Regions from separate parts of the Homo sapiens genome. Here region 1 is linked to region 2. Evidence: promoter capture Hi-C in human tissues and cell types (Jung and others, 2019). All regions are on one chromosome and are shown on one strand. The core of a region is centred on a gene start or on the middle of the fragment in contact, and the rest is flanking DNA. Distances in the headings are between cores, read along the strand shown. Region 1 holds the start of DDX17 (DEAD-box helicase 17). Region 2 overlaps BAIAP2L2 (BAR/IMD domain containing adaptor protein 2 like 2).

What was found. The method cuts DNA at HindIII sites, captures the fragments that hold promoters and counts their contacts. A contact is called where the count stands out against the background at its distance.
Region 1: a contact is called between the fragment with the promoter of DDX17 here and a fragment that was not itself captured in region 2, in 3 of the 25 tissues and cell types used here (aorta, dorsolateral prefrontal cortex and lymphoblastoid cells).

The regions. Positions count from the first base shown.
Region 1 is chr22:38,505,059-38,511,232 of GRCh38, forward strand. DDX17 (DEAD-box helicase 17) reads right to left here and starts at 1,253. Exons shown (of 13, transcript NM_006386.5): 1 at 893-1,253. The coding sequence starts at 1,179. It also overlaps a transcript of DMC1 not described here. RefSeq lists enhancers at 318-1,209, 1,089-1,278, 1,210-2,101, 1,679-2,088 and silencers at 529-698, 729-998. The HindIII fragment of the contact is 16,171 bases long and covers 984-6,174 here.
Region 2 is chr22:38,092,025-38,098,075 of GRCh38, forward strand. It overlaps BAIAP2L2 (BAR/IMD domain containing adaptor protein 2 like 2), which reads right to left. Exons shown (of 14, transcript NM_025045.6): 6 at 6,039-6,051; 7 at 5,008-5,154. Among named protein-coding and RNA genes, the nearest start is that of SLC16A8, 11 kb to the left of the region's middle. The HindIII fragment of the contact is 3,515 bases long and covers 1,873-5,387 here.

The DNA of each region.
Region 1 (6,174 bases), core at 3-2,502, 410 kb after region 2:
CCACCAAGCCAGGCTAATTTTGTTATTTTTAGTAGAAACGGGATTTCTCCATGTTGATCAGGCTGGTCTCGAACTCCTGACCTCCGGTGATCCGCCCGCCTCGGCCTCCCAAATCGCTGGGATTACAGGCCTGAGGCACCACGCCCGGTCCACAATACCAAGAACTTTCTAGCGAGGCAGAATAGTTGACGCTGCAGTCCAATTAGAGAAAAAAGGCTGAAATATTAAGATTAAAACTAAAGTAACGACCCAAAAACCCATCCTTCCCCCAAACACGGTCATTTAGATGGCAAGCAACTCCACTGCTTTACATCCCAATGCATTTCCTCCGACTTAAAATATAACTGAAGAGAATTAAAATCTATTTCTAAAAATGAGAAGTTGGTCTTTTCGTCTCCCGTGCCTTAAACAGTGAACTCTGGGGAGAGAACGTCAAGGGTGCCATTTCGTGTAAGGCTTTCCTGGGCTGAAGTGTTCTCTCAGGAAGATCCGCGTTTTTCAGATGAACGCCGAGGCCTGGAGACATCGAACAGCCCGCCCGAAGCGGCCCGGCTCGAGAGCCGGGAAACCAGGCGAGGCGCCAAAGCCCGGGCCTGGGCTGATGCGGCCAGGCCGCCCCTCCCGATCCCCCGCGGGGCTGGGATGGGGCCGGGCCGCGCCACGACGGCCGTCCGCACGGAGAGGCCCAGCGTCGCCAAGCGGCCGCCCTCCTCGGGTCCCGAGTGACCCCGGGGCCGAGGTCCGCGCACGAAACCGCTGTCTCGCCTCGAGTCGCCTCCCCTCGCCTCCCGGGTCGAGAGCAAGGCTCCCAGGCTCGCAGTCCGCCGGGCCTCCCCAAGAAGCAACTCCCCCACCCCCACGCCAGGCCTCTCCTCTCCTCCCCCACCCTTACCCTCCACGGTCACGATCCCGGTCCCGGTCCCCAAAGCCTCCTCCGCGCATGGTCCCAAAAGGATAGAGATCTGGGAGCGGGGCACGGATGGCCGGGCTCGGGAGGGCCTGCGGCTCCGGTCTGGTGACGACCGATGGCGGCGGCGCCTCCGCTGTTGGGGCGGCGGCAGGCGCAGCGCTCTCTCGCTCCGACGCGCTGTCTCCCGTCGCAGACGCCACCGTCGCCGCCTCTCTCGTCGGAGACGGGAGCAAAACACAGAGAATCGGGGCTACAAAGCCGGTGGGCAGGTTTGGCTACGCTCAAACCGGGCAGTGCCGCGGTTTAGGCGTCTCCTTCCTTCCCAGCGACTGCACAAAATGGCGGCCGCCGCTGAGTCGGCTCCAACTTAACGCTGCGTACGGCGGAGACGATACGTAAACAGCGCCTCGGAATAGCCCGAGGGCTCCGCGGGGAACTACGGGTATTCTTGGAAGCACTTTACGTCAGTTGCGACGATGGGTGTATTTTGCGGTCTGTACAAGAAAAACAAAGTACGGAGCGAGCGTAGAGTTCTCGCGCCACCCGAACTAGAACGTGGGATGAGGTGGGAGGAAGCGCCTCTGGTGCGACGTAACATTCTTTGCGTCGTTAGCCGGCCTGCTGTTGCTAAGATGCGCAGTATGCGTAACGCATTCTGTTTAGAGAATAGAGGATTTTGCCTGATTCCGATCTCGGTACAGACCCCGCGGCCGGCTTGAAGAAGTTGCTTTGCAGAGACAATAACCGTCCTCCATATTGTTATCAAGTTTCAGAGTCCTCTGGCGCCAGAGGCCGGGAGGGTCTTAAATTCCGTGGCTGGCCTTCCTATATGGCGCCGCCAGCCCTCTCGCCCCACCGCCCTGGGCCCGCTGAGAATGGCGGCGGGCCCCGGCGCCATTTCCTTTCCGTTGCCTTTCGCTGCTCTGTCTCCGGCAGCCATGATGGAAGAGCCGTGTCCCTTTCTTTCCGGAGTTTGTGAGGTGGCGATGTCCCTTCCAGGTTAAAGTGCCCTCAGCTACATTTGGTTCACACTGAGGTGCATTTTCTGAACCGTATATTTTTACCGTCCCTGGCCGAGCACAGCTGTTGCTAATACAGAAACAAAATGTGCTTGGAGGCCAGGCATGGTGGCTCACGCTTGTAATACTAACACTTTGGGAGGCCGAGGCGGGAGGATCACCTGAGTCCCGGAGTTCGAGACCAGCCTGGCCAAAATGGCAAAACCCCGTCTCTACGAAAAATACAAAAATTAGCAGGACATGGTGGCGGGTGCCTGTAGTCCCAGCTACTTGGGAGGCTGAGGCAGGAGAATCGCTTGAACCCGGGAGTCGGAGGTCGCAGTGAGCCGAGAACGTGCCACTGCACTCCATCCTGGACGACGGGGCAAGAATCCGTCTCAAAAAAAAAATTGCTTGGAGCCCCAGTGGACTCCGTGGGCCCTTTGCTGCCGTTGAACGGCGCTCCTCAGAAGGCCCGGAGAAGACCCCAGCACTCTCAGGAGAACAAGGTTTCAGAGCGATGGTCTTTAGACACAGAAAGGGCGAAGGCTAAGGACAAGTGTTTAACCAGGCTAGTCCACGTTCTCCGCTCAATTCCTTCCAGACTGGCTTCCCTCTCCTTACCTGCTTCCTGTCGTCTCAAACTGCATTTTGAAGCCCCGCAAGCTTGGCCAAATGGCGTCACACGACTGTTGAGCTGTTAGGGCCCTCGAGACGGGCCCATCTAACGTCTCAATTCAACAGATGGGTAGAAGCGGGGAGATTTGGCCCCTCAGTGTGGGTGCTGAGTGTTTGTTTCCCAAATTTTTGGGAACATAGCATAAGAAAAGGAGCTTCAAAAAGAAAAAAAACATGGACCACTGATTTTTCTGTGGTTATGTGTTCTTTTTCCCCAAGTACGTTCTTAACATTGGCAAGTGAACCTCTTAAAGTGATTGAGACTCGCCTGGGTCATATTCTTTTTCTTTTTTTTGTCTGGAGTGCAGTGGCACAATCTCGGCTCACTGCAACCTCTGCCGCCCGGGTTCAGGCAATTCTCCTGCCTCAGCCTCCCGTGTAGCTGGGATCACAGGTGCTTGCCCTCGCACTTGGCTAATATTTGTAGTTTAGCTGGGGTTTCACCATCTTGGCCAGGCTGGTCTTGAACTCCTGACCTCGTGATCCACCCGTGTCGACCTGCCAAAGTGCTGGGATTACAGGCGTGAGCCACCGCACCGGCCTGGGTCATGTTCTTTTATTTACACTGTTAACCTGCCCCAATCCTCATCATCTCTTGCCTGGATGACTGCGCTCGCCTCTTTTTAATCTGCCTGCTCCTGTCCTTGCTCACTCTGAATTTATTCTTCACACTGCAGTCATAGGGGTCCTTTTATTATGTCACTTTACTTAAAATTTTCCAGAGGTTTCCACTTGAAAGAAAAGACAAAGGCCTTACAGTGGCCTACAAGCCCTTGAGGATGCAGCCCTCTTCTGTCTTTCCTCCTTGTTCTACTCTAGCCACACTCGGCCTCAGGGCCTTTGCACTCGCTCTTTACTCTATGTCAGCAAGGCTAGATACCTCAGTTTAGGTCTGTGCTCACATGTCACTCAATCAGGGAGGCCTCCCCAGAACCCAATGCAACACTGCATAACCTGCATACTCTCCTCCTTCACAAGTACACATGCATTCTCTCTTTTCCATTTTTCTTTGCTTTCATTTGAATTAGTAACTGCTTGACATAAACACTTTTTGTCTCCCTCCTAGAGCGTAAAATCTGTGAGTGCAGGAACTTACTTGTTCACCACCGTGACCCAGTGCCTACCTGGCACAGTGCCTGACCTTTTAGCCATTCGACCACGCCATACCCTTGTCCAGTGAGTCTGTGACTGTCCCTTTGTGTTTCTGGGCCAACTGACATCTCAACGGCTTTTGTTTTTTGAGACAGAGTCTCGCTCTGTCGCCCAGGCTGGAGTGCAGTTGGCTCACTGCAACCTCCGCCTCTTGGTTTCAAGCGATTCTCCTGCCTCAGCTTCCTGAGTAGTTGGGATTACAGGCATACGCCACCACACCTGGCTAATTTTTGCATTTTTAATAGAGACAGGGTTTCACCATGTTGGCCAGGCTGGTCTGAAACTCCTGAATTCAGGTGATCTGCCTGCTTCGGCCTCCCAAAGTGCTGGGATTACAGGCGTGAGCCACCTTGCCTGGCCTTTGTCATCAACTTTTATTTTAATTCTGGGGTACATGTTCAGGATATACAAGTTTGTTACACAAGAAAACGTGTGTCATGGTGGTTTGTTGCACAGATCAACCCCTTGCCTCGGTATTAGGCCCAGCATCCGTTAGCTATTCTTCTCGATGCTCTCCCTCCGCCGACCCCCAACAGGCCCCAGTATGTGTTGTTCCCCCGCTCCATGTGTCCGTGTCCTCTTCTGGGTCTTTGATAGTCTTCACTGATGCTTTCTGCTCACGCTCAGATAATCTGCATTTTCACGTAAGATAAAATAATCATAGAGCAGAGGCAGCAGTCAGCTATGTGTTTGTTTCAGGCGAGCAGAGGGATGACTTTTTAGTTTTGTCCTTTGTCCTGTGCTTGTGATGGTAAACCATCAATGTACATTGTCGGGGTGAAATTCAACGGAACTGTTTTAGTGTAAAGATCTTGGAGGCCCACAAGGAATTTCTTTGTGGGCAAATTGTGAGAGGCCTATGTAGCTTTTTTTGTTTTTTGTTTTTTTTTAGAGACAGAGTCTCACTCTGTCGCCCAGGCTGGAGTGCAATGGCGCGATCTTGGTTCACTGCAACTTCTGCCTCCTGGGTTCAAGCAATTCTCCTGCCTCAGCCTTCTGAGTGGCTGGGATTACAAGCATGCGACATGACGCTAATTTTTATATTTTTTAGTAGAGACTGGCTTTTGCCATTATTAGCCAGGCTGGTTTTGAACTCCTGACCTCAAGTGATCCACCCACCTTGGCCTCCCAAAGTGCTAGGATTACATGGCCACCGCATCTGGCCTTCATTATATATTACGGTGTAATAATAATATAAATAGGCCGGGCCTAATAGAAATAGTCTGGCTAACATGATGAAACCCCGTCTCTCCTAAAAATACAAAAAAATTAGCTGGGCGTGATGGCGCATGCCTGTAGCTACTCAGGAGGCTGAGGCAGGAGAATCGCTTGAATTGGGGAGGTGGAGGTTGTAGTCTTAAAAATGGTATTTACAGGCTGGGCACAGTGGCTGACGCCTGTAATCTCAGCACTTTGCGGGGCTGAGGTGGGCAGATCACTTGAGGTCAGGAACTCGAGATCAGCCTGGCCAACATGGTGAAACCCCGTCTCTACTAAAAATACAAAAAATTAGCCAGGTGTGATGGTGGGCGCCTGTAATCACAGCTACTCGAGAGCCTGAGGCAGGAGAATGGCTTGAACCCAGGAGGCGGAGGTTGCAGTGACCCAAGATGGCACCATTGCACTCCAACCTGAGCGACAGAGCAAGACTCTGTGTCTAAAAAGACAGAAAAAAGAGAAGTTTCCTCTAGAGCGCTGAATGACAAGAGACAATGTGGAGAGAGAAGTCTCATACTTACAAGTATATCCTGCCAAGACCCCAGATATACAAGTGAGGCCATCCCAGACCCTTCAGCCAGCCTACTAGCTGAATGTAGCTGCGTGAGTGAGCTATTTCCTTCCTCCCCGCAAAATCCCTTATCTTTTTCTTCATGTTTTCATCTTAGGATATGAAAAGGAAACTGCTGTAGTTGTTTTTTAACCATGAAGGGAACTTTTGGAGAACAGAACCAGCACACCGAAGGTGGGGAAAGTGGAGAGAAGGAAAGAACCTGGGCCCTTGATGACATTATAGAGTCACTGTATTAGCCAACTGTGGAGCTGGTTGACTTCTGGACTTCTTATTTGAAATGACATGCTTCCTCATTGTTTAATCTACTTTTTTGAGCTTTGTGTTACTTGTAGCTGAAAGCATTCTAACTGATACACTCCTCAACCAGCTCTTCTAATACAAGTACAAAATCTGAAACAAGTCAGGCATGGTGGCATGTGCCTATAGTCCCAGCTACTTGGGAGGCTGAGGCGGGAGGGTCGCTTGAGCCCAGGCATTTGAGGTTGCATTGAGCTATGATTGTGCCACTGCACTCCAGCCTGGGTGACAGACTGAGACCCCATCTGTAAAACAAACAAACAGAAAATCTGAAACACCTTGCATAGTATACAATAGGCATTCAATAAGTTTATCATTAATGAGGAAGTAAAAGAAGATTTTGTTGT
Region 2 (6,051 bases), core at 2,380-4,879:
TACATCACTGATGGAAGTGTAAACTGGTGCAACCAATGACTATATTCTTGGGCTTACCAATTCCACTTCTAGGAATTTATCCTGGAGATACATTTGCACAGCTGCAGTAAACGAGAGAAGCTAAGGATGAGGTGGGAAGGCACGTTACTGACTAGACTTGGACTAAGCAAAGACTAATTAGCGAAGATGAATAAGAAAGACAATTTACCGTGCCCGGGCACCTAGAGTTCTTTAAATCTTATTCTAAGGCTGCCTTCTTTTTTTGAGAGAGAGAGCGAGCCTTGCTCTGTTGCCCAGGCTGGAGTGCAGTGGCGCAATCTCGGCTCACTGCAACCTCTGCCTCCCGGGTTCAAGCCATCCTCGTGCCTCAGCCTCCCGAGTAGCTGTGATTACAGTCATCCGCCACCATTCCTGACTAATTTTTGTATTTTTAGTAGAGACGGGGTTTCACCATGTTGGCCAGGCTGGTCTTGAACTCCTGATCTCAGGTGATCCACCCACCTCGACCTCCCAAAGTGCTGGGATTACAGACATGAGCCACCACGCCCACCCCAAATGTGCCTTCTACTTATAAATAGAACAAGAAGTAAATATATATGCTTAGCTATCTTAGGAGTTAGATCTTGGATGTTTTAAAGTCCAGCTGGGTCAGACAACATGTTACTTGCTCCCTATGTGATATGGTTTGGATATTTGTCCTCTCTAAATTTCATCTTGAAATCTGACCCCCCAGTGTTGGAGGTGGGATCTAGTGGGAGGTGATGGGGGCAGCTCCCTCATAAATGGCTTGGTGCTGTACCCCACGGTAATGAGTGGTATGAGTTCATGCAAGATCTCCTTGTTTAAAAGATTGCAGTGGCCGGGCGCGGTGGCTCACACCTTAATTCCAGCACTTTGGGAGGCCGAGGTGGGTGGGTGGATCACCTGAGGTCAGGAGTTCAAGACCAGCCTGGCCAACATGGTGAAACCCCGTCTCTACTAAAAATACAAAAATTAACGGGCATGGTGGTGCATGCCTGTAATCCCAGCTACTCAGGAGGCTGAGGCAGGAGAATCGCTTGAACCCAGGAGGTGGAGGTTGCAGTGAGCTGAGATCATGCCACTGCACTCCAGCCTGAGCAACAAGAGCAGAACTCCATCTTAAAATAAAAAGAAAAAAGAAAGAGTGTGGCACCCCACCGGCTCCCTCTCTGGCCATGTGATATGAACTTCCCCTTTGCCTTCTGCCATGATTGTAAGCTTCTAGAGGCTTCGCCAGGAGCAGATGCGGGCAATGCACTTCTTGTACAGCCTGCAGAACTGAGAGCCAAATAAACATCTTTTAAAATAAATTACCCAGCCTCAGGTATTCCTTTATAGCAATGCACAACGGACTAACACACCATGCATAGGGGAAAATCTGCCTGTTCAACCCACAGCTCCCTCCTGAGGGACCCTCACCCACGAGGAGGCAGTCAAGGAGGGGGTCAGCTCTTCTCTTAATGTTGATGGTTAACTATTTACAGGCAAAAAGGAGTTTAACACAGGTGAAAAAGAGTTTCCTTCCAAAGAAGATCTATAAATAGCTAAGAAGCACAGGAAAACATGTTTAACATCACTAGCCATCTGGGAACCGGAAATCAATATTGCAATCAGATATCGCTTCACACCTGCTAGGATGGCTATTATCAAAAAGACAGTAACAAATAGTAGCGAGGACGTGAAACAACTGGAACCCTCATAAACTGCTGATGGACACGGAAACACTCCGGAAAACGGTCTGGAAGTTCCACAAACAGTTAAACATAGAGTTACCATATGGCCCCACAATTCTACTCTTATATACCCAAGAGAGATGAAAACATATGTCCACATGAAGACTCGTACATGGATGCTCAGCGCAGCAGTGGTCATGACAGCCAAAGAGTGGAAACAACCAGGCGTCCATCAGCTAACATCTGAGTAAATACATCGAGTAAACGAGTAAATACAATGTGGTGTATCCAAGCAATGGAATATTATCCAGCAGTGAAAAGGAAGCCAGTCGCAAAAGAGCACACACATTGTATGATTCTGTTTATATGAAATGTCCAGAATGGGCAAATGTATTGAGACAGAAAGTAGATTCCTGGTGGCCTGGGGCTGGGGGAGTGGGAGGATTGGGAATGACAGCTAAGGGGTACCGGTTTGTATTTTTTTTTTGAGACGGAATTTCGCTCTTGTCCAGGCCGGAGTGCAGTGGTGCAATCTTGGCTCACTGCAACCTCCACCTCCTGGGTTCAAGCAGTTCTCCTGTCTCAGCCTCCTGTGTAGCTGGGATTACAGGCATGTACAACCACGCTTGGCTAACTTTTGTATTTTTAGTAGAGACGGGTTTTCACCATGTTGGCCAGGGTGGCCTCGAACTCCTGTCCTCAGGTGATCCACCCGCCTCGGCCTCCCACAGTGCTGGGATTACAGGTGTGAGCCACCGCGCCTGGCCGAGGTACTGGGTTACTGTGGTGGAGGGTATTGAAAATATTTTAAGCTTGATAGTGGTGATGGATGCATGACTCTGTGAATATACTACAAACCAGAAAGTGTACACTGTAAATGGGTGAATCGTATGTGAATTATATCTCAATAAAACTGTTTTTCAAAAAAGGAAGTTGTTTCTCCCTGGCAGACCTTTTGTGGGATAGCAGGGGACGAGAAGGCTGAGCCTGGGGCCGGGTGAGGCGGTGACAGTGGGCAGATGAGAGCCTGAGCCGAAATCTGGGTCTTTGGATCCAGTCATGTATCCCTGGGCCCGTGGGTTCAGATCCAGAGACTCGGGGAGGGCGTGGGAGGCGTGGGAGGCGTGGGAGGGATAAGAACCCCAAGCCAGGACCGGGCGTGGTGGCTCATGCCTGTAATGCCAGCACTTTGGGAGGCCGAGGCAGGTGGATCACCTGAGGTCAGGAGTTCGAGACCACCCTGGCCAACATGGTGAAACCCTGTCTCTACTAAAAATACAAAAATTAGCTGGGCATGGTGGCGCACACCTGTAATCCCAGCACTTGGGAGGCTGAGGCAGGAGAATCACTTGAACCTGGGAGGTGGAGGTTGCAGGGAGCTGAGATTGCGCCACTGCACTCCAGCCTGGGCAACAGAGCAAGACTCCGTCTCAAAATAAATAAATACATACACACATAAATAAAATCAGTTTATCAAAATACAAGGGTCATGCTGCAGAGATGACTAGTGAGGTCTGAAACTAAGTCCTAAACTATCTTGGCAAAACCAGGAAGTGGAGGATGGGAAGGATGAAGACAGGAGTAAAAGCTTTCCAAAGGCCCCACCTCAGAATAGTTGGAGGGCAGGAAAATACTTCTTAAGGTATTATCTCATCTTTTTTTTTGAGACTTAGTCTCACTCTGTCGCCCAGACTGGAGTGCAGTGGCTTGATTTTGGCTCACTACAACTTCTGCCTCCCAGGTTCAAGCAATGCTCCTGCCTCAGCCTCCTGAGTAGCTGGGATTACAAGTGCCTGCCACCACGCCCAGCTAATTTTTGTATTTTTAGTAGAAACGGGGTTTCGCCATGTTGGCCAGGCTGGTCTCGAACTCCTGACCTCAAGCGATCCACCCACCTCGCGCTCCCAAAGTGTTGGGGTTACTGGTGTGAGCCACCGCGCCCAGCCTAATTTTTGTGGAAAGCTTTAAATCAAGGTCTCATCTTATGAATTGGCGGAGCGATGGACTGAACAGTGTGTGTCTGTAGTAGGGTGAAGTTGGCATTTTTGGAAAATAGGTGGATATATATGTGATTATGAAAGTCACAAAGTGAGGTCACCACAGGTAGAGAGAAAAAAATAGTGCAATTTCTAAATTAATAAAGGGAAAAGGGGAATGTATAGTATAATAACTCAACCAAACTGACAAGAAATAGTGTGGGAGAAAAAGAGGAAATGACAAAGTAAATACAGTTAGCTCAAGTTATCTAAAAGGAATAAAACCCAGGTATCTTCATTATTATGTTAAATGGGAATGGGCTGAATTCCTTTTCTATTAGAAGACACAGACTGTAAGACTGGTCAAAAACTCAAAAGTCAGTAACAGAAAGTATACTTAACATACAAAGAGATAAGCAAAGAGAAGAGAAAATAGAGCAGTATTAATATCAGACAAGGCGGAATTAAAAGCATCAAACTTAAGAGAGACATTAAGTACATAAATGGCAATATTTACAAAGAAGGTAGAATAGTTATAGCCAAAAAACGCCAAACAACATGGCAGCTCAATTCAGAAAGTGAAATCTATTAGAAATCCAATGAGAGATGAGAGAGTCTGACTAGTCTAGCAGACAGAACAATGCAAGAGCATAGAGGATTTAAATAATATGATAAAATGGCTGGGTATGGTAGCTCATGCCTGTAATCGCAGCACTTTGGGAGGCCGAAGCAGGCAGATCGCTTGAGGTCAGGAGTTTGAGATCAGCCTGGCCAACATGGCGAAACCCCGTCTCTACTAAAAATACAAAAATTAGCCGGGCGTGATAGCACATGCCTGTAGTCCCAGCTACTCGGGAGGCTGAGGCAGGAGAATCGCTTGAACCCGGGAGGGAGAGGTTGCAGTGAGCCGAGATTGTGCCGTTGCACTCCAGCCTGGGCAACAAGAGTGAAACTCTGTCTCAAAAAATAAATAAATAAATAATATGATAAAATTAATAGACGATAACTGAGCACACCTATCAATGAATTTGTGAATTGTGAGAATATACAAACAGGAATTAAAAAATGGTCCACACATGAATAAATAAATGCATGAATTCGTGAATGCATTAAAAACAAACAATATCACGAGTGAATAAATGAGTGAATATACAGTGATACAAGCAAACCCAGAAACAAAGGAAGAAATGGATGGAGATAGCAAAATAAAATGAATTTCTACAGACAGGCAGGCAGGGAGGGAAGAGGGAAGAAGGGAGGGAAACCTCTATGTACGGCCACTCAGGAGGGGGCAGCTCCTAGAAGCGCCCCGCTTGCTGCCCCCCAGTCCAACTCACCCGGCCGAAGAACTGCAGGAAGGTGTTGGAAAGTAGCAGGTGCTTCTCTGCTAGGAAGCGATAGCGCCGCTTCTCTTCCAATTCAGCCGCCCGCTGACTCTCAGACACGAAGGCCTGCATCTGTGCGTGCAGCCGGTTCACACTCTCCTGGGGGGGAACGGGAGTTCTGGCTGGGGGCGGTGGGTGTGTCTCATCCCACCCCCCTCGCCCACAGGCGCCAGCTGTTCAAGCCCCCTGTTCTTCCTGACTGCCCTCTCCCCAAGCCCACCCCCCATCACCCGGCCCATCCTAGCTCCTGAGCCTGCCCCATCATCAGCAGCCTTGTTATGAGTCTGGGCCCTGCGTCTCCCTCTCCCAGGTGCTTCTCACAAGCAGGGCTGCTGTCTGAGCCTTCGCTCTGTCCCTGGCACCCAGCACAAGCCCAAGCACGGGCTGGGGGGGCAGGGGGACGGGTTTAATGAGAATATGAATGAGTAGGTTAATAGCCCCTACTTGGGGGGAAGATTCTGAGGAGGGGAGGCGTGAGCTCACTTAAAGGAGCCAGAAGAGACGGGAAGGGAGGCAGAGGGTTAATCCATGGGTTTGGATCTTGGAGACAGAGGCCAGGGATGGGGCCCCAGGCTCAGGAAGGGGAATGGCCCTAGCCGGGGGCGGGATACCTCTGCCAGGCAGGAGAGAGGGGAGGAGGATGGGCGGCTGGTGGATGACACCTTTGGCACCATGTTCAAGCGAGCAATTTTCTCGGTGAAGTAGGAGATGGGGGAGGTGGGATGGGTTTGCAGGAGAGGCCCGGGGATTCTGGGTAAGGCCAGTAAGCCACAGGGCAAGGGGCGGTGCTGGGCGTGGCCCTAGGAGCTAGTTACGCCCACCCCACCAGGGGCTGGCTGACCTCCCCAGCCACGCTCATCACAGTTGGGCTGGTGCTCGGTGGGGGAGCTCAGGGAGGCGTTCGGGGTTCCCAGGGCCCGGTCTCGCCCCGAGGTCTGCCCACCCGCCCTTCCTGGCCCACCCCCGCTTCCCGGCCCTCGCACCTTCATCTCCCGC